Linked DNA regions of Homo sapiens: all the other regions are linked to region 3. The links are contacts of gene promoters, found by promoter capture Hi-C in blood cells and fetal thymus (Javierre and others, 2016). All regions are on one chromosome and are shown on one strand. Each heading gives the region's core, a stretch centred on a gene start or on the middle of the fragment in contact. The rest is flanking DNA. Distances are from core to core; before and after follow the strand shown. Region 1 overlaps ABCC5 (ATP binding cassette subfamily C member 5). Region 2 overlaps PARL (presenilin associated rhomboid like). Region 3 holds the start of ALG3 (ALG3 alpha-1,3- mannosyltransferase). Region 4 has its middle 14 kb from the start of MIR4448. Region 5 overlaps ABCC5 (ATP binding cassette subfamily C member 5). Region 6 overlaps ABCC5 (ATP binding cassette subfamily C member 5). Region 7 overlaps ABCC5 (ATP binding cassette subfamily C member 5).

Evidence for each region. Contacts are between HindIII fragments. The CHiCAGO score rates a contact against its expected background, and 5 or more counts as called.
Region 1: a contact is called between a fragment that was not itself captured here and the fragment with the promoter of ALG3 in region 3, in 1 of 17 cell types (M1 macrophages). The highest score is 5.6, in M1 macrophages.
Region 2: a contact is called between a fragment that was not itself captured here and the fragment with the promoter of ALG3 in region 3, in 2 of 17 cell types (M0 macrophages and megakaryocytes). The highest score is 5.7, in M0 macrophages.
Region 4: a contact is called between a fragment that was not itself captured here and the fragment with the promoter of ALG3 in region 3, in 17 of 17 cell types (endothelial precursors, M1 macrophages, M2 macrophages and 14 more). The highest score is 33.2, in endothelial precursors.
Region 5: a contact is called between a fragment that was not itself captured here and the fragment with the promoter of ALG3 in region 3, in 2 of 17 cell types (M1 macrophages and M2 macrophages). The highest score is 6.4, in M1 macrophages.
Region 6: a fragment that was not itself captured here is called in contact with the fragment with the promoter of ALG3 in region 3 in 5 of 17 cell types (M1 macrophages, M2 macrophages, endothelial precursors and 2 more); the score reaches 8.3 in M1 macrophages.
Region 7: a contact is called between a fragment that was not itself captured here and the fragment with the promoter of ALG3 in region 3, in 6 of 17 cell types (M1 macrophages, M2 macrophages, M0 macrophages and 3 more). The highest score is 14.9, in M1 macrophages.

The regions. Positions count from the first base shown.
Region 1 is chr3:183,944,332-183,947,031 of GRCh38, forward strand. It overlaps ABCC5 (ATP binding cassette subfamily C member 5), which reads right to left. Exons shown (of 30, transcript NM_005688.4): 24 at 1,519-1,608. Among named protein-coding and RNA genes, the nearest start is that of MIR4448, 59 kb to the left of the region's middle. RefSeq lists an enhancer at 574-663. The HindIII fragment of the contact is 3,580 bases long and covers 1-2,700 here.
Region 2 is chr3:183,832,999-183,835,703 of GRCh38, forward strand. It overlaps PARL (presenilin associated rhomboid like), which reads right to left. Exons shown (of 10, transcript NM_018622.7): 8 at 726-827; 9 at 494-591. Among named protein-coding and RNA genes, the nearest start is that of MAP6D1, 8.8 kb to the left of the region's middle. The HindIII fragment of the contact is 651 bases long and covers 959-1,609 here.
Region 3 is chr3:184,247,519-184,250,293 of GRCh38, forward strand. It overlaps ALG3 (ALG3 alpha-1,3- mannosyltransferase), which reads right to left and starts at 1,444. Exons shown (of 9, transcript NM_005787.6): 1 at 1,227-1,444. The coding sequence starts at 1,422. It overlaps EEF1AKMT4-ECE2 (EEF1AKMT4-ECE2 readthrough), which reads left to right and starts at 2,154. Exons shown (of 19, transcript NM_014693.4): 1 at 2,154-2,372. The coding sequence starts at 2,177. EEF1AKMT4 (EEF1A lysine methyltransferase 4) reads left to right here and starts at 2,154. Exons shown (of 3, transcript NM_032331.4): 1 at 2,154-2,372. The coding sequence starts at 2,177. RefSeq lists enhancers at 25-768, 769-1,512, 1,711-1,760, 1,841-1,900, 1,931-2,040. The HindIII fragment of the contact is 5,512 bases long and covers 1-2,775 here.
Region 4 is chr3:183,899,215-183,901,991 of GRCh38, forward strand. It overlaps the pseudogene CYP2AB1P. Among named protein-coding and RNA genes, the nearest start is that of MIR4448, 14 kb to the left of the region's middle. The HindIII fragment of the contact is 4,315 bases long and covers 1-2,777 here.
Region 5 is chr3:183,965,112-183,967,842 of GRCh38, forward strand. ABCC5 (ATP binding cassette subfamily C member 5) reads right to left here. Exons shown (of 30, transcript NM_005688.4): 12 at 2,584-2,655; 13 at 266-390; 14 at 74-146. Among named protein-coding and RNA genes, the nearest start is that of ABCC5-AS1, 40 kb to the right of the region's middle. The HindIII fragment of the contact is 6,780 bases long and covers 1-2,731 here.
Region 6 is chr3:183,990,154-183,992,964 of GRCh38, forward strand. All of the region lies in intron 2 of ABCC5 (ATP binding cassette subfamily C member 5), which reads right to left. Among named protein-coding and RNA genes, the nearest start is that of ABCC5-AS1, 15 kb to the right of the region's middle. RefSeq lists an enhancer at 1-420. The HindIII fragment of the contact is 1,078 bases long and covers 761-1,838 here.
Region 7 is chr3:183,921,433-183,924,401 of GRCh38, forward strand. All of the region lies in intron 29 of ABCC5 (ATP binding cassette subfamily C member 5), which reads right to left. Among named protein-coding and RNA genes, the nearest start is that of MIR4448, 36 kb to the left of the region's middle. The HindIII fragment of the contact is 3,947 bases long and covers 1-2,969 here.

The DNA.
Region 1 (2,700 bases), core at 201-2,700, 300 kb before region 3:
CTGGACTGAGCCGTATTCATGCCACTGCACTCAAGCCTGGGTGACAATAAGACCCTCTCTCAAAAAAAATAAAAAAATAAAAAATAAATTAAAAAAGGAAAAAAAGAAAAAAAGCTAACTTTTCAAAACTATGTTTCAAAGTCAAGTGTTGGGAACTCAGAATATACTCTTCACATATAAACAATGACACAGATGCTTGTAAAGTCTCACAGCAGTTCAATAAAATAGATAACTCTTAAGAATTGAGTTCAATTTGAGAATCTAACTACTCATGATGCTGCTTCTTTATAAGCAAATTTGTCCAATCTGTGGCCCTTGAGCCACATGCAGCCCAGGACAGCTTTGAATGTGGCCCAACACAAATTCGTCAACTTTCTTAACATATTATGAGACTTTTTTTTGCCATCTTTTTTTTTAAGCTCATCAGCTATCGTTAGTATTATTTTATGTGTGGCCTGAGACAATTCTTCTTCCAATGTGGCCCTGGGAAGCCAAATGATTGGACACCCCTTGATGTGGTTTGGCTCTGTGTTCCCACCCAAATCTCATCTCGAATTGTATAATAATCCCCATGTGTGAGGGGAGAGGCCTGGTGGCAGATGACTGAATCAGGGGGGTGGACTTCCCCCTTGCTGTTCCCGTGACAGTGAGTTCTCAGGAGATCTGGTTGTTTGAAAGTGTGTGGCACTTCCCCCTTCTCTCTCTCTCCTGCTCTGCCATGGGAAGATGTGCTTGTTTCCCCTTCACCTTTCGCTATGATTGTAAGTTTCCTGAGGCCTCCCAGCCATGCGTCCTGTTAAGCCTTCGGAACTGTGAGTGACTTAAACCTCTTTCTTCATAAATTACCCAATCTCAGGTAGTTCTTTACAGCAGTGTGAAATGGATTAAGACATCCCTGTAGGAAATTGTTTAAGAGTGCCAGTTAGGACAGCAGCAAGATGCCTGCCACCCACGGCAAGACGGAAGGGGTTCCTGGGGAAAGGTGGGAAGAGCTGGATACTCTGGTATCAATTAAATTTACTCGTTTGTAAGTTGGGAGAGCAGTTTAGAATTCGCTATGGAGCTTTTCAAACTATAGAAGCCTGGGTCCCACCCCAATCCACTGCAACAGAATCCAGAGATGAGGCCACGTTTGTCCTGCCAAAAGCTCAGCAGGGGGTCCTGATGGCCATCCCTGATTAAGAACAATTGGACATAGTAAGAATTAAAACAATACATGGTTTTAAACAGTGTAAGGAAAATGCTCCATTAGTCAGTTAAGCTGAACTGACAAGGTTCTGAACATTCTGGAAATTAGCCAATGAAGTTCTCAGCTCGACATAATTTACAAATATACTTAGAAACTCTTACGGTAATCTCTTTCCCATTCCAAGCACGGTTGAGAGATTGCTGGAGATTCTGTGGGATTAGATAGGCAGAGAACACAAGCCTCCTCCTTGTACACCCAGCTGAGGCAGCAAAGGGTAAACCGACTCCAAGAGGAGTCAGATCACGGTAAAAGGCCTACAGCAGTCTGACCTTAATGTAGTGATTGATCCTCTCCACCGAGGTGAATCGAGCTTCTGTCTCAGATGCCAGTCTGACCGTAAACTGGAACAGCCCCGTTAACTGATAATGGAAAACAACAATCAAAGAGATAATTCATTATCAATACACGCCAGGCCAATGCTGGAGAACTTCCTTCATCTAGAGGACTACTAAGAACTGAGCACATGCAGCAGCTGGTCTTAGGGACCTAGTCATTCTCTTGGCTTTTAAGGCATACCTGTTACCCCATCAACTGCAATGCTCAGTGAATGCGGGCAGTATCATGGCACTGCTGGAACCACTTCCTTGTACCCAAAGCCTTTCTATTCATCTTTACATTTCCAATAACACATATCTGCAACTGATTCACTTCTGGACTTCCTACTTGTATCTGAGCCTGTTTGTGGGAGTCACAACAAATGGAGATATCAACCTATGAGCAACTAGTAAGAATGTTTCCAGGAAAGTCAAATCAGATACATAATGCTGGGAAATGAGTGAGTCTGGAGCCCCTGTGCTCCATAGACTGCGGAGTCTAAAAACAGTCTATATAATGCATTGTCTTCCCCAACCAGTTGTCAAGTAAATTGCAAAATGTGGCTGGACATCTCGGGGTATCTGTGAAGACACATATCTCTGGGGTTCCTTTGACTATTTATTTTTATCTTTTCAATAAAGAAAAATGTCAAACACACAAGAGTAGAAAGAGTAGTATAATGAACTCCCAGGTACCAAAACTCTACCATAAAAATGATCAACTTACAGTCAATATTGTTTCATCTGTATTCCCTTCCATTCCTACCCCCACCCCCCATATTATTTGGAAGCAAATCGCAGAGAGCTTATCTCATCCAAATATTTCAGCTTGTACCTCTCTAAAATATAGACTCCTTAAAAACATAATTCCAATACCATTATTTTAGAGGGTAATAATAATCACTCAACATCTTAAAATATCTAGTCAGTGCTCAAGTTCTCAACTATTCTCTGAGCTATTTGAAGACCCTCAATCACCCCTAGGGGCTAGAAGGTTTTATGTATATAACAGTATTGGGAAAATCAGGGCCCTGAGAAGAAAATGCACGTAAGAAGCATATTGAGTCTATAACATTTCTTAGAAGACTAGAAAGAGGCCAGAGATGAAATGGTGGTGAACACAGAAACCCACAATTA
Region 2 (2,705 bases), core at 34-2,533, 410 kb before region 3:
GGGTACTCAGTAAGTGGTCCACATTGGTTTGCAGTCACCGGCCTCTACTCCAGTCATACAGAGCAATGGCTCCGCCAACTCAGCATGTCTAAATAGCACTGGCGAGACAGAGGTCAGGGTAGCAGGGTGGGACGCCAGGCAGGGGAGAGGAGGGCAGGAAAGTCTGAAGGGGAAAAAGAAGATGTCAGCATAGACTGGGGGCCAGGCTGCAGTCTTCTAAGAGGGGGCTGGGAATAACAGGCCAACAGTTGGGGCAACTTAAGGTTAAGCGTAGGGTAAAGGCACAGACTGTCTCTACAATGAGCCAGGTATGCTGGGTAAACCCAAAGCAAGCCACGTTGAGGTTTCCTCACCCTCCCAAGCCCACCTGCTTCTGCTTCCGTTGCATAGTTCAATGTCTCTGCCATGGGGATGGGGGGTAGGGGTGAGGCTGGGGTAGGAGGAGCGCATGACCCAAGGAAGCAGTTTAGCAATCAATTACACTCAAACTTACATTCCAAAAAGAGCTCCCCCAAGATGTGCCGCATGATCAAAAAATTTCCATCCCAGGATCATTCCTGCTGTATCCATGGCGATAATGGCTTTCAGGGCCTGAAAGGCAGCAAGAAACAAGCGGCACAACTGTGATTGCTCCAGCACTGACATTTCTAACTTAAGGGCAAGAACCCACTCAACATAAAAACATCACCACTATCCCCAGCACTGCACTTCATAAAAATACTTACATTCCCTGCTGTGAACGTGAACATCGGAAGGAAAATAATGGCAAGCCTCCCTTCTGGGATCTTAGTGCAGACAGCTGCGAGGACTGTCATGATGGCACCAGACTGCAAAGTAACACAGCAGGGAGAATGGGAAACTCAATATGCAACTGCTTAGTGGCTACAAGGTCTAAAGAGCAGCACATTTTCTAGAAAGTTTACATGCTGCACATTTCTAGGTGAGCACAAAGCTTCAAAGCTTTCAGTTACTTATGTCCCCAATAATAGGTGAAGGAACTAAATGTCCTTCACACAGTAATCGCTTGGAAAGACTGAATTTTTACTACGGGGCAGTAAGATGTATGTGCCTCATGAACCGCAAGGACAGTGCTAAGCGTGTCATGCGCATCTTTCACCTATGGCCTAGGAAAGAACTGCTCACACTTCTCTGACAAAGCTCCAACCAGAGGGAGTGGGCATGAATACGCCCAAAGAAACCTGCATGCATGAAGCATGTTTCATCTTAAAAAATTCATGTGAAATCTTTATTCATCTTCATAAAGAAACAAAACATTGCCAGTGTGGTGGCTCACGCCTGTAATTCCAGCACAGTGTGAGGCATGAGGATCCCTTAAGCCCAGGAGGTCAAGGTTACAGTGAGCTATGATTGCACCACTGCACTCCTGCCTGGGCAACAGAGTAAGACCCTGTCTCAAAAATAATAAAGGAATAAACTGATACACAGAACATGGATGAGTCTCAAAGTAATTATACAGAGTAAATGAGGCCAGGACAACAAATACTAGTATATGCTGTATGGTTCCATTTGCAAACTAATTTATCTTTAGTAGAAGTAGGTAAGTTGTCGCCAGGGGTAGAGGAGGGGCAGGAAGGAGTGACCACTAGGAAGCTTTTGGGATGAATATGTCCATGATCTTGAGTGTGGTGATGGTTTCACGGGTGTCTACATGTCAAAGCTTACCAAACTTTAAATATGTGCAGTTTTTTGCATGTTAACTAGTAAACCTGAGTTGCCTGCTTTTTAAAAAGACTACATGGGGCTGGGTGCAGTGGCTCTCGCCTATAATCCCAGCACTTTTGGAGGCCGAGGCAGGTGGATCACCTGAGGTCAGGAGTTTGAGACCAGCCTGACCAACGTGGTAAAACCCCGTCTCTACTAAAAATACAAAAAAAAAAAAAAAAAAAAAAATTAGCTGGGCGTGGTGGCGGATGCTTATAATCCCACCTACTTAGGATGCTAAGGCCCGAGAATTGCTTGAACCCGGGAGGCAGAGGTTGCAGTGAGCCGAGATTGTCCCACTGCACTCCAGCCTGGGTAAAACAGCGAGACTCTGTCTCAAAACAAAACAAAACAAACAAACAAAAAAGACTTTATGGGAGTCCTCTGTACTATTTCCTGCAACTTTCCATAAGTTTTTAATTATTTATGAATGAGATGTTTAAAAAAAAAAAAAAGACACCTAAGAGCAAAATAACTTTTGAAAGAAGCCCCTATCATTAAAAAGAAAGGTTCCTACCTTTTCATATAAAAACGGTTGTTTCTGGAAAATAGCATCTACCTCTCTTAATCAATGTTTTCTTAATGTCTTCTATGTGACGGGTTGCTTCAGAATACAAGATTATCTTACATTTGGGGAATTACTAAAACTTTAAAGAAAATTATTATGAGTCCCAGAGATCTCAGATGTCCCCAGTCCCTCATATAACTGCCAAGTGGCCTCAACAGGGAAACAAGCTCGGGTTGCATTCTTAGAAGTCAGGGTAACTGCAAGATGGAAGGACAGCATGAACACTCCTCAAAAGGAGGACCCAAGAAGACCTGAATTTTGACCAAGCTGGCTTCTGTGCAAGAGACTATAATTGTAGCCGGGCACGGTGGCTCACGCCTGTAATCCCAGCACTCTGAGGGGCCGAGGCAGGTGGATCACCTGAGGTCAGGAGTTCAAGACCAGCCTAGCCAACATAGTGAAACCCCGTCTCTAC
Region 3 (2,775 bases), core at 194-2,693:
AATTCCTGACCTCAGGAGATCCACCCGCCTAGGCCTACCAAAGTGCTGGGATTACAGGCGTGTGCCGCTGCGCCCAGCCTAGCTGGAGATTTTTAATAGAGGATCCTCTGTCCACAGCACTCCTTCCCCTCACCTTTTTCTTCTTTCCTTAAATAGCTAATTCCTACCTTCCAAGGGTGGCTCTATGAAGCCTTTGCTGACTCCTCCAACCTGGTTTAAGTGACTTCCTATGCCCTTTATGGTATCCTGTGTTACTACTACCATGATTATGATGCATTATAATTGCCTGCTAACTTACTGTCCAGGCCCGAGTTAGAAATGCATCCTTTTTCTTTTTTTTTTTTTGAGACGGAGTCTTGCTCTGTCGCCCAGGCTGGAGTGCAGTGGCGTGATCTCGGCTCACTGAAAGCTCTGCCTCCCGGGTTCACGCCATTCTCCTGCCTCAGCCTCCCGAGTAGCTGGGACTACAGGCGCCCGCCACCATGCCCGGCTAAATTCTTTTTTTTTTTTTTTTTTCAGTAGAGACGGGGTTTCACCGTGTTAGCCAGGATGGCCTCGATCTCCTGACCTCGTGATCCGCCCGCCTCGGCCTCCCAAAGTGCTGGGATTACAGGCGTGAGCCACCGCGCCCGGCAGAAATGCATCTCTTATTCACCACTGTACCTCTCTCTGGTAACCAGCATAATGCTAGGCATATAATAAGCACTAAATAAATATTTGTTGAATTAAGAGTCTTTAGCAAGAAAGCCAAGTGCCTTAAGCCTAGAGTATAGTTTCAGCCTGGAAAGGAGTAGCCAATAATGCCTAATGGACTCAAGTGGTCACAAGATGCCATCATTGAGAAGGGACGTTCAAAGATCACAGAACTGAACACATGGAAAAAGCTGAGATCCAGGAGGAGACCTGAGGTGTCCAAAGCCACAGAGAAAAGCAGCAGCAGCAGCAGTACAACAATTTTGGCTCAAATCTGACTTCTAAGCTGGTTTGCAGGCTGTAAGTTCAGTGCAGAAGGCCAATCTCTAGGGTATCCACCTCTGCCATGCGGGCAGATTAAGATCCGGTTTTCTGTAGAGCAGGCTTGGCGCTCAGGTAAGGGATATGGATGGGTTCGCAATTGACGAGTGAGTGGATACAGAGTCTGGTTTGGAGTTCCAGGTCTGAGATCCAGTTTGGGTCGCGGGTTCAGGTCTCCCTCCCTCCCCTCCCCTCCCCCTCGGCGCACTCACATGCCACCCTGTGAATGACCCAGAAGGTGATGCCCACCTCCGCCAGGCAGAGGCAGGCGGCCACCAGCAGCGTGTAGCGCGGCTCCCGCAGCAGCAGGCGCCGCTCTTGCCAGGCGCGCTGCAGCCATTGCTTGCAGAGTCCCTCTGCCTGGGCCGCGGAACCGGACCGGCCGCGTTTCCGCAGCCCAGCCGCCATCTTAACGGTGCGCCGCTTGTGTGGGCCCACCACCCCCGGAAACCCGAACCTTCGACACTTAGGTTCCGCTTCCCGTGCCTGGCGTCCCACCAGGCTAAGCGCCGATCCGAGTAGCCAGTCTTCATTTACTCCACTAAAATGTAATTTTTCTGCATTTGTCTCCTCTGATGCACTCCACGCTCCATAGGAGCAGGGACAATGTCTTACTCCTCAGTTTATACCCAGCCCTGGGTACACAGGCGCTAATTTAGAACGAATGTCCAGAAAAGCAACATTCCTGCCTACCTCCCCCACAACCGCTGAAGCCAGCATTCTCCTTCGCCTGCGCTGGGAACATCTGTGTTCATGCTGTCTCTCCAGGAGGGCAAAGCCCCTGTTCGCGCCCCTCCTGCCTGCCCTTCGAGCCTTCCGGATGCTGAGAAAAATGAACCTTTCACTAATTTTCAGATTTCCTGATAAAAGTCATTCATATTGAAAATATGAGAGGACGCAGTGATGAGCCCACGTGAGTCTGACACCTTGAGTGCGGCCCTAGGAAATGACTTGGCAGTACAGCCGGAGGATTCAGGGTCTGGACGATAGTTTTCCCAGCCGGAGGATTCTTCGAAGAGCGCTTAGTAAAGGACGGAAGTTCCACGTGTTTGTGTTGAGCAACTGCAGGTGGTGGGCGGAGACACCAGCGCCCCGCCTTCTGCATCCTGCCTTCCGTATTGGCTGAAGGGCCGGCGGCTCTGGCTGCCCGGCGGTTGAGAGCATGGCCTCTCCAGGGGCAGGTAGGGCGCCTCCGGAGTTACCGGAGCGGAACTGCGGGTACCGCGAAGTCGAGTACTGGGATCAGCGCTACCAAGGCGCAGCCGATTCTGCCCCCTACGATTGGTTCGGGGACTTCTCCTCCTTCCGTGCCCTCCTAGAGCCGGAGCTGCGGCCCGAGGACCGTATCCTTGTGCTAGGTGGGTAATCCCGGCGCGGCCCCGCCAGGTAGAGCTGGCAGGACCGGCGCCGCATGGGCTTGGCCTGGTCCGCTTTCCTCCCGCCTGTCTATCCCTCTTGGAGGACGCCTGCGTTGGGACGCGAGATCCAGCTCCTTCAGAGTCCCGGCTGTATTTAGTCAAGGCTAACAGGAGTAAGAGATTGTTGGTCCCGGGGCCCTCTGGAGAAAGACAGTCCCTCAGAGTTTGAGCGTTGGGGGTACCCAAGACCCTGTCCGGACCCTCGGGAGGCAGGCAGCCTTGGGGACCGGATTGCTCAGAGGACCGAGATCAAGTCCTAGCGCTAATTGACTTGTAAAACTTAGGACAAGTCATGAACCCGTTCTGAGCTTTAGATTCAGTTCTAGAAATGGTACTGCGAGTT
Region 4 (2,777 bases), core at 23-2,522, 350 kb before region 3:
AGTGAGCTGAGATCACACCACTGTACTCCAGGGCAGTACTCGGGGCAGAGCCAAAGCTCCTTTCCGAGGAAAGTCTCAGGGCTCCCGCCACCACCTCTATGTACAGAGGCATCACCCTGCACCAGGGCACCAAGATGAGTCGCTCTGTTTCATTTTCATTAAAATGGCAACCTCACCACCTACACATGTTGGTATGTTACCTGTTGCGGGAAGTCAGGGACCCCGAACGGAGGGACTGGCTGAAGCCATGGCAGAAGAACCTGGATTGTGAAGATTTCACGGACATTTATTAGTTCCCCAAATTAATACTTTTATAATTTCTTATGCCTGTCTTTACTGCAATCTCTAAACATAAATTGTAAAGATTTCATGGACACTTATCACTTCCCCAGTCAATACCCTTGTGATTTCCTATGCCTGTCTTTACTTTAATCTCTTAATCCTGTCAGCTGAGGAGGATGTATGTTGCCTCAGAACCTTGTGATAATTGCATTAACTGCACAAATTGTAGAGCATGTCTGTTTAAATGATATGAAATCTGGGCACCTTGAAAAAAGAACAGGATAACAGCAATTGTTCAGGGAATACGAGAGATAACCTTAAACTCTGACCACCGATGAGCCGGGTGGAACAGAGCCATATTTCTCTTCTTTCAAAAGCAAATGGGAGAAATATCACTGAATTCTTTTTCTCAGCAAGGAAGATCCCTGGGAAAGAGAATACGCGCCTGGGGGTATAGGCCTATAAACGGCCCCCCTAGGTGTGCCTGTCTCTTATGGTCGAGGCTATAGGGGTGAAATAGACCCCAGTCTCCCATAGCACTCCCAGGCTTATTAGGAAGAGGAAATTCCCGCCTAATAAATTTTTGGTCAGACCAGTTGCTCTCAAAACCCTGTCTCCTGATAAGATGTTATCAATGACCATGGTGCCCGAAACTTCATTAGCAATTTTAATTTTGCCCCAGTCCTGTGGTCCTGTGATCTTGCCCTGCCTCCACTTGCCTTGTGATATTCCATTACCTTGTAAAGTACTTGATGTCTGTGACCCACACCTATTTGCACATTCCCTCCCCTTTTGAAAATCCCTAATAAAAACTTGCTGGTTTTTGCGGCTTGTGGGGCATCACGGAACCCACCGACACGTGATGTCTCCCCCAGACGCCCAGCTTTAAAATTTCTCTCTTTTGTACTCGTCCCTTTATTTCTCAAGCTGGCCGACGCTTAGGAAAAACAGAAAAGAACCTACGTGACTATCGGGACAGATTCCCCGATAGTTACCCCAGTTAGCCTTGACTCCCAGGATACACACCTTTGTGTAATCCCCTCCCCTTGAGGATAGGATGGATTTAGTAACTCACTTCTAACAAATAGAAAATGGGCCAGACGCAGTGGCTCATGCATGGAATCCCAGCACTCTGGAAGGCCAAGGTGGGAGGATCACTTGAGCCCAGGAATTTGAGACCAACCTAGGCAACATGGTGAAACCCCATCTCTACCAAAAATTTAAAAATTAGCCCATTGTGGTGGCACAATGTGGTGCCTGTAGTTCCAGCTACTCAGGCAGCTGAGGTGGGAGGATCACCCAAGCCTGGGAGGTTGAGGCTGCAGTGAGCTATTATTGTGTCCCTTCACTCCAACCCAGGCAACAGAGGGAGACACTGTCTCAAACCAACAACAACAACAACAACAAACCCAACAAATAGAATATGGCAAAAGCGGCCGGGTGCGGTGGCTCACACCCGTAATCCCAGCACCTTGGTAGGCTGAGGCAGGCCAATCACTCGAGGTCAGGAGTTCAAGACCAGCCTGGCCAACATGGTAAACTCCATCTCTACTAAAATATACAAAAATTAGCCAGGCATGGTGGCACATGCCTGTAATCACAGCTACTCGGGAGGCTGAGGCAGGAGAATTGCTTGAGCCCAGGAGGCAGAGGCTGCACTGAGCTGAGATTGCACCACTGCACTCCAGCCTGGGGTGACAGAGCGAGATTCTGTCTCAAAAAAAAAGAATATGGCAAAAGCAATGGGATATCACATCTAAGATTAGGTTACAAAAAGACCATTGCTTCTATTTTGGGTGCCCTCTTGCTTGCTCTCTCTGATGGGGTTCAGCTGCCATGTTTTGAGCTACCCTATGCAGAGGCCCATGTGTCAAGGAACTGAAGGTCTCCAGCCAACAGTTCATGAGCAACCGGGTCCTGAAGACCTCCATGTAAGTGAGCTTGAAGTGGAGCCTCCCCTAGGGGAGTCTTCAGGTGACACTGTAGCCCCAACAACAACTTGATGGTAACCTCATGAGAGACCTTGAGTCAGAGGCATCCAGCTGAGCCACACCCATTTTCCTAACCCTCAGAAACTGTGAAATGATAAATGCTGTTGTTCTAAGCCACTAAGTTTTGGGGTAATTTGTTACACAGTAAGATAGGTAAGTAATTCAACATCTGTCATCTAGGATCTGCAAGGCTCCGTCAACAATACAGAGCACCATTGTACCGAATGACACCGTGGGCACAAAGCCCTCAGCACACAGCAAGCCTGGGCAAAGAGCAGGTGTCCTCATGTTATTGTCCAGCTCACGTCAAAAATCTGCTCGGAAAGCTATCTCAAGCTGGATCACCAGAGAGCTATCATCTTCAACTATGCTCGAGACCAACCTGGGCAACATGGTGAAACTGCATCTCTGCAAAAAAACAAAGCAACAACAACAACAAAAACAACGAAAATTAGCCAGGCATGGGGGCTCATGCCTGTAGTCCTAGCTACTCGGGAGGGTGAG
Region 5 (2,731 bases), core at 72-2,571, 280 kb before region 3:
GCACTCCCAGGAGCAGCTCTGGCCCAGCTCTGCCACTCTGCTAAATGCCTGGTCAGGGGCGGAAGGCCTGTACCTCCGTCAGGTCGCTGCTGGGAAGAATGGCCAGGTCAGGCCTCAGGCAGCAGCTGTTCAGCACAGAGTTGTATCTGGAGGACACAAAGAGACAGCGTCAGGGACACGGCGGGAGCAGAGCCTGCTGACTAGGGCTGCCTTGCATCTCACGCGGCCAAGATGGAAAGCATGACAGAAGCCAAACATTCCTTGCCTTTCTTCATCATATTCCTTCCCAAACAGGATGTTGTCTCTCAGAGTAGCATTGAGGATCCAGGCCTGCTGGGCCACATAAGCGAAGGTTCCACTGATTGCAATGCTGCCCTCTAGAAGCGTCATCTAGGGAGAGAGACACCATCCAATGGCATCATAACTCAAAACCATCACCCTATGCCAACGGAACCCCCACCTTCCACAATGGAATCTAGCTCTGGTAATTTCCCGGGATGCTTTTTGGACCCAAATCCAGATTCCACCTTTAATTCCAAAGAGAGCTAAGCAGCAAAGAAAATCAAAGTTCTCCTTGCTTATGTGTGATGGGAGCTCAGCATAACCCATAACTTGAAGGCAAACACTTCCCTCTGCAGCCCATTTGCTGTGTGCAAACTGTTTAAATTAGGAGAAGCACAAGCAAGAGGTTCTTGCAGAATTCTCCTGGAGAGGATGCTGTAGGGGTTTCCAGCTAATCCCTGCCTCAACATGGGGGCAGGCCAACTCATCCAAGGCAATTACCTAGGATGCTGGCTAGACCAGTTGCTTCTATGAAATGAGGACCAAGGGAAAAAAAAAGTCCAGGTTAGACATCACCTAGTATTTATAATATATACACAGTGTCCATTTACCAATGATGGACCTTGCCTGCCCACAAGCAGTGATGAACCATGTGCTTTGAAGTTTGTGTTCAGTTGCAATGGTTTGATATGAATTGACTTATCCATTTTACCCCCTTCCATGATTTCTTTTGTTTGGGACTGATAGTAGACATTTGTCTTGGTTTAGGGATGCTACAGCTTTGAAGCAAAGTTTCACTAACCAGCCTGTGCAGTACTTGTTCATATAAGCTGGTCTTCTCAAACACCCTCACACAGCGTGTACACACACAGGTGTACCTACGTACACCACAAACTGGTAGCATTCTGATGTGCACTTCAAAGGGTTCAGAAGTCCCCAGGGGGTCTACTGTGGAAAGCCGGCACTTCTGGCTGCTGCACAAACACCGCACATTGCAGCGCTATCAACAGATGTAAACTACAGTTAAAGCAGGGCTGACCAGCCCAACCCGTTTCCCTGCCAGAGACAGGGTTGCCAGGATTTGTCCAGAAGCAAAGCCTGACTTGGTTTTCAACCTAACCACTGCCTAGTCAACCCTGGAAAAAGGAGCACATTGCTAGATGGCAGAGCAGCACTTACGAATTGACCTTTTCTTTCCTTCTCCCCCTCCCCCCATCTCTGTCTCTCCTCACTGGCCCTCCAAATCTGGTTGGTCATCATAAATCACCTAGGAAGTCTGGTGCTTTTTACAAGACCAATGGCTGGGCCCAGCCACTGGAGAGTGTCATAAAGCAGAAGGTGGAGGTGATGCCTGCCATGATCTGACTCAGACAGCCCCAGGCACCACCACCCTCAAGGAGGACCACAACTCACCAACTGTGACAGCTGATGCCAAACAAGACAAGAAAGCATTCCATAATCTGGGGGCTACAAAAGCACCCCTGCTCCCCCTCTGTTTCATTTCAATTCAGTGGACCTTATCCATCAGGGTGTAGAGATAATCATAAGTTTATGCTCATCTCAACCATCTAAGTCAAGTTAATTTAATTCTAATGTAAAAGCATGTGGGCACCTTGTTTTTTTTTTTTTTCTGGATTGTTTGATTCTAAAACACAGCAATGATAGTGTGTCTCAGTGGGATGACTCCGGCCCCATCCTGTCCCTCACTCTCAGCACTGGCCACCGTGTGCTGGGCCCTGCACGCTGTTCACTCCCTGCCTGGAGATGTGCTTGTTGTGTTCTCAAGGCCTTGCTCCCCACTGGACCATGAACTCCCCAAGGGCATGACTCTTTCAGGGATTAGGCAGAAAACAGAGGGGCTTTGCTTCTAGATCAAACCCTGACAGTCCTGTCTGACAGAGAGGCTGGGAGTGCTGGCCGCCCTGCTTCTTTACAGGTTAACTCTGTTGGCAGCGCTGCAGTGTAGGGTGTCTGCTCATCTCTTATCTCTGACATTTTCAATACACGGGCATACCTGTGGCACTCAATAGATACATGCTGAATGAAAGAAGGCATGAGACCAAATGGTTCCAGCTGGGACAACAGTCAGTCATCCATCAGGCGCCCACCAGGCCTCCTTCCAGGCAGAAGGCTGTGAAGGGGGAGAACTGGGGGGAACTGCGGGGGATTGGGGGCATACAATGCAGGCTGAGGGTTCATTTGTTTCCACCTTTCCTGACTCTCCAGGAAATTTGTTCGTTTTTCCTGAGACTCTTGCAAACCAGAGAAAGCAGCAGAAAAGGACAATAACAAAAATCTTACCTGGCCTAAAATGGCTGAAATGAGAGAGGTTTTTCCACTTCCCACACTGCCACAGATTCCAACCAGTTTACCCTGGACAAGGCACACAGAGAGGAGGGTCATTTAGAGACTACTAACCACTCATCGCTAAGGACTTGAGGAAAAACAC
Region 6 (2,811 bases), core at 50-2,549, 260 kb before region 3:
GCCGGAGTGCAGTGGCATGATCTTGGATCACTGCAATCTCAGCCTCCCCGGTTCAAGCAATTCTCATGTCTCAGCCTCCGAGTAGGGGGGTTACAGGCGTGCACCACCATGCCCAGCTAATTTTTGTATTTTTAGTAGACACGGGGTTTCACCATGTTGGCCAGGATGGTCTTGATCTCTTGACCTCGTGATCCGCCCACCTCAGCCTCCCAAAGTGTTGGGATTATAGGTGTGAGCTGCCGCGCCCAGCTTATGGACCACTCTTTGTGTTCTATGTTCTAAAATTTACATTTTTATTACCAAATGTTTTATCTTCTGTTTCCCAATATGGATTGAGAGTCAATTATTTCACTACTAACTGAAAATCTGATTGCCCATTTCCTATGACAAAAATTTCCATCAGCCCCAATTAAACAGCCCTGCCACACAGAAAGAGCCTGGATGTACACGTGCCTCCCCTGTCACAGCAGCAGCAGGGAGAACAGAACGTGAGTTCTTATCCTGGCTGCACAGCTGAAGAGCTCTACACTTCCCTGCAGCACGCAGCAAAGGATCTCATGAGCTGAAATATAAAGTTACACGTATTTACTAACTAGAAAGTGTATAAATGTTCGTTCATTAGATTAACAAAAGTGCATGCAAAAGTGCATTCTAAGTCTGACTGTGGCAGAAGAGGGTGGGTCAAGAATCTAGACACACTTATCCCCCGTTTACTCTAAAAGTAACTCAAACGTTTATGCTTTCCTGTTGTAGAAGCAGAAGCTTCATTTTCCTCAATTTCCTTATCTTCCTTTTCTGTCTTAGCAGTGAAAGTCACATTATTACAAATATTTCCAGCAATTATTGTGAAACAGTAAAAAACAGATCTCAGCTGGGCATGGTGGCTCGCGCCTGTAATCCTGACACTTTGGAAGGATCGGTTGAGCTCAGGAGTTCAAGACCACCCTGGGCAACACAGCAACACACCATCTCTACAAAAAGTAAAAAAAAAAAATCAGCCAGGCATGGTGATGCGTGCCTGCAGTACCAGCTACTTGGGAGATGGAGGCAGGAGGATGACTTCAGCCCAGGAGTTGGAGGCTGCAATGAGCTATGATCGTACCACTGCACTCCAGCCTGGGTGACAGAGCAAGACTCTGTCTCTAAAAGAAGGAAAAAAAAAACAAAAAACAAACAAACAAACAAAAAAACAAGGAGAATAGATCCCCAAATCAAGAAAAAGTTAAGTGGTTTAGCACCTAACACACCAAGCCTTATACAAAGCAGTTGATTTTTATACATCACCTCCTTTCCCACCAAAGAACAGCGGGAACTTAAACATTAACAGAACTGAACGGGTAGAATTTTGTATACAGGAGTCAGCTGGATGCCTGGGCAGATCAAACACAATAGCTTTAGTTCACAGCACAGTTAAGTATCTTTAGATAACTTCTGGTATTAGGAAAGCACATAGCCCTGCAAAGCACACTCCTTTCCTTTTGTCAAAGGCAAGTCAGACCAGTTTCAAGAGAATAATGGTACAACATGACAGGAGTCAACAACAAGAACGAACTCGCTCTTAAATGAAGTCCTTATGTATAAGGTCAACACTTAATTTAGTGGTTAGGGACTACGGCACTTGATAATGAGCTGAGGACTGCTGAGATTTAAGTACATTACAAAGGTTTTTCTTACCTATGAGCTGCATATAATCACAAGGGGAAGGAAAAAACCTCCTGGATTGAGAGAGAAAGATACACTAAAAATACAAGCACACCTACTTTAAGTGAGTAGAAACTGGGAATCTGTACAGAGTAGGTACAGAATGTTACAGGGACCAGCCTTATTTGGATATCCAAAGCTTCAGAAGATGACAAAAGATCTGAAAAATGTCACTTCAAATACATTGCCAAAATGGACTATACATTGGGCTATAAAGCAAACCTCAACAAATCTCAAGACTGACATCATGTATACATGCACTCTGACCACTTTAGGATTTAATTAGAGTTCAGTAACAAAGATTTTTAAAATATCTGAATGTTCAGAAATTATGCAATATACTTCTAAGTAATGTAAGTGAAAGAAAACATCAAACGGGCATGACAATTTGTACCTATATAATCTCAACTACTCAGGAGGCTGAGGTGGGAGGATTGCTTGAGCTCAGGAGTTTGAGGCTGCAGTGAACTTTGATCTCACCACTACACTCCAGACTGGGCAACAGAACAAGACTCTATCTCTTTAAATTAATAAATAAAAAGAAGGCATTAAATGGAAACCAGAACATATTCTGTGCTAAACAGTATGAAACTGCAATACATCAACATCTCTGGGATGCAGCTAAAACAGAGAATAAGGTGAGATTTTCATCGCTTTCAAAGCATATACGCCTGTAATCCTAGCACTTTGGGAGGCCAAGGTGGGCGGATCACGAGGTCAGGAGATCGAGACCATCCTGGCTAACACGGTGAAACCCCGTCTCTACTAAAAAAAAATACAAAAAATTAGCTGGGCGCCATGGCAGGCACCTATAGTCCCAGCTACTCGGGAGGCTGAAGCAGGAGAACGGTGTGAACCTGGGAGGCGGAGCTTGCAGTGAGCCAAGATAGCGCCACTGCACTCCGGCCTGAGCGAAAGAGCGAGACTCCGTCTCAAAAAAAAAATAAAAAATAAAAAAATAAAAGAAGAAAAAGAGAAAAATCAATGCTTTAAGCTAGGGGTTGACAAACATTTTCTGTAAAAGGCCAGAGGTAAATATTTTCAGTTTTGTGGGCTAAGAGGCAAAATCAAAGATATTAAGTAGGTACTCCTATTACAAGAGAAAACAAA
Region 7 (2,969 bases), core at 307-2,806, 330 kb before region 3:
GCTCTGGGTCATGCAGGGTGATTCAGAGGATCCACGGCTCAGTAAGTGCCAGTGCCCTCTGAGGGTAGAATCTGGGGACAATTCAACTAGCCCTGCGTGCACCTCCCCCCTTATTTTTTTATTTTCAACTATCCAGGGAGTAAGGGAAAGGACAGAGAAAATGACTTCCAGCATTTTTGTAGTATGTGGTTTTGCCTAATAAAGTAGTATCATAGCAAAAAAAAAAAAAGAAAACGACTTCCAGACCTCCTTCACATAAATCCAAATTCCTTCAGCCTTGGGAGTGAAGGAACCAACCAACCAGGTCTATAAACTGCAGGAGGCTGGTGGCTCACGCCTGTAATCTCAACACTTTGGGAGGCTGAGGTGGGCAGACTGCCTGAGGTGAGGAGTTCAAGACCAGCCTGGCCAACATGGTGAAACCCTGTCTCTACTAAATATACAAAAATTAGCTGGGCATGGTTGGCGGGTGCCTACAATCCCAGTGACTTGGGAGGCTGAGGCAGGAGAATCGCTTGAACCCAGGAGGTGGAGGTTGCAGTGAACTGAGATTGTACCACTGCATGCCAGGCTGGGCGACACAACGAGACTCTGCCTCAAAATAATAAATAAATAAATAAATAAATAAATAAATAAATAAATAAATAAAAAACAACAGGCTGGGTGCGGTGGTTGATGCCTGTAATCCCAGCACTTTGGGAGGTCGAGGCAGGCGGATCACCTGAGGTCAGGAGTTCGAGACCAGCCTGACCAACATGGTGAAACCCTGTCTCTAGTGAAAATACAAAAATTAGCTGGGTGTGGTGGTGCATGCCTGTAATCCCAGCTACTGGGGAGTCTGAGGCAGGAGAATCGCTGGAACCCGGGAGGCGGAGGTTGTGGTGAGCAGAGATCGTGCTATTGCACTCCCAGCCTGGGCAACAAGAGCGAAACTCCGTCTCAAAAAAATAAATAAATAAATAAACAAAATAAAATAAATAAACTGCAGGGGAGAGAAGTTGCAGCTCAAGTCAAGGGCACACCAGACAAATGCCATTTTGTTATGCAAGCTGATCTAACCTTATAGAGGGAAATGGAAGAGCTCAGAATGTCTAGTTGTCAGGGGAGAAAAAGGAAGTCAGGGAGTGACTTAGTCAGGTGGCCATTCCTATGATGGACTTCTATGTAGCCGTGGAAAATCATGTGGCAGCAGAACCCTGAATGATACGCTGGCAGAACCCACCTCCTGTGGCAGAGGCTGAAATGCATGTACTCAACTTTCTCAGCCGCCCCCGCCACAGGGCAAAGGCATGGAACATAACCTTGTTTAAGGAGATGTAAGAGGAAGTCTCCTTGGTGCTTTAGGAGAGGGTGTCCTGCTCAGTGGACAGGCCACAAGGAGAACATAAGCGTGTCCTTCCTTTGGACACGTGTCCTTCCTTTGGTTGGGTGCTTGAGCAGGCATCCTGTACCAGCAGGGGAAGGTGAGTACTGGCTGAGAGTGATACAGAGCCCCACACTGCTGAGCTGCACAAAAACCAACCCATGTGGGATAACAAAATCCCATCCTCCAAACCCCTTTTAGTCTGGTATTTTGTGTCTGCGGCAGAGAGCATCCCATCTGTTGGAGTCTGTGTGTGCAGATGCAAGAAAAACACAGCTGGGGTAAGTCAGTGTATTACAATGCTCGTCTCTGGGGGTAAATGGCTTATCATCCTGTTTTTGCCTTTATGCTTTTCTGGTGTGTGTGTGGTTTTTTTTTTTTAGGCTTTCCTGAAATTACAAGGAAATTTTAATTAGCAAGAAAAAAATTAAGGGAAGAGAAGGATAGAGTCCCTCATAAAGAGTGAATGGGCTCCCCACTCCAAAACATCAAGCCACCCATCGAAAGAAAGGGGTCTCAATTTGTGTTCTTAAGAAAAAATTTCCAGCTGGGCACAGTAGCTTGTGCCTGTAATCCCAGCACTTTGGGAGGCTGAGGTGGGCGGATTATCTGAGGTCAGAAGTTCGAGACCAGCCTGGCCAACATGGTGAAACCCTGTGTCTACTAAAAATACAAAAATTAGCCAGGCATGGTGGCACATGCCTGTACTCCCAGCTGCTCAGGAGACTGAGGCAGGAGAATCGCTTGAACCCCGGAGGCGAAGGTTGCAGTGAGCCAAGATTGCACCACTGTACTCCAGCCTGGGCGACAGAGCGAGACTCTGGCTCAAAAAAAGAAAAAAAGAATTTCCCAGAAGATGTTCTTGGTCCCATCTATTATACCTTACTAGGCTCTATTTTAACACCTACTTACAAAGTAGTAGCTCAACGTATCTTATGTATGACAGAATCTCAGTCAACACTTAGTTTAAGGCAAACAAAGATAGTCACAAAAAACACTAGTGTGAAAATAATTTCAAGATGAGGAGAAAAATCCTTAGCCCCCAAGTTCTCTCAATTCAGCTTTGAAGCCCAGGCTGAACCTGCGCTATTTAACCTTTTCTCAATATTTCTCCACAATTTAGACAGTGTGCTGGCAGTGCGGTTGCTGGCCTGAGTCCTGTCCCATCTCCTCCGCTTCCTTTTTTTTTAAATCCCACCAATTTTTACTGTTTGCTTTTTTTTTTTTTTTTTTTTTTTGACATGAGGTCTCACTCTGTCACCCAGGCTGGAGTGCAGTGGCGCTATCTCAGCTCACTGCAACCTCCGCTGCCTCCCAGGGTTAAATGATCCTTCCACCTCAAATTCCTTAGTAGCTGGGATTACAGGTGTGTGCCACCACTCCTGGCTAATTTTTTGTATTTTTGGTAGAGACGGCGTTTCGTCATGTTGCCCAGGCTGCTCTTGAACGCCTGAGCTCAGGCAATCTGCCCGCCTCGGCCTCCCAAACTGCTGGGATTACAGGCATGAGCCACCGTGCCCGGCCTACTCCACTTCCTATGGACTTTCCCTGAGACTTTGTCTCCTCATGTGTAAAGCAGAATCCAGGCTATGTCTTTCTCTAGGTT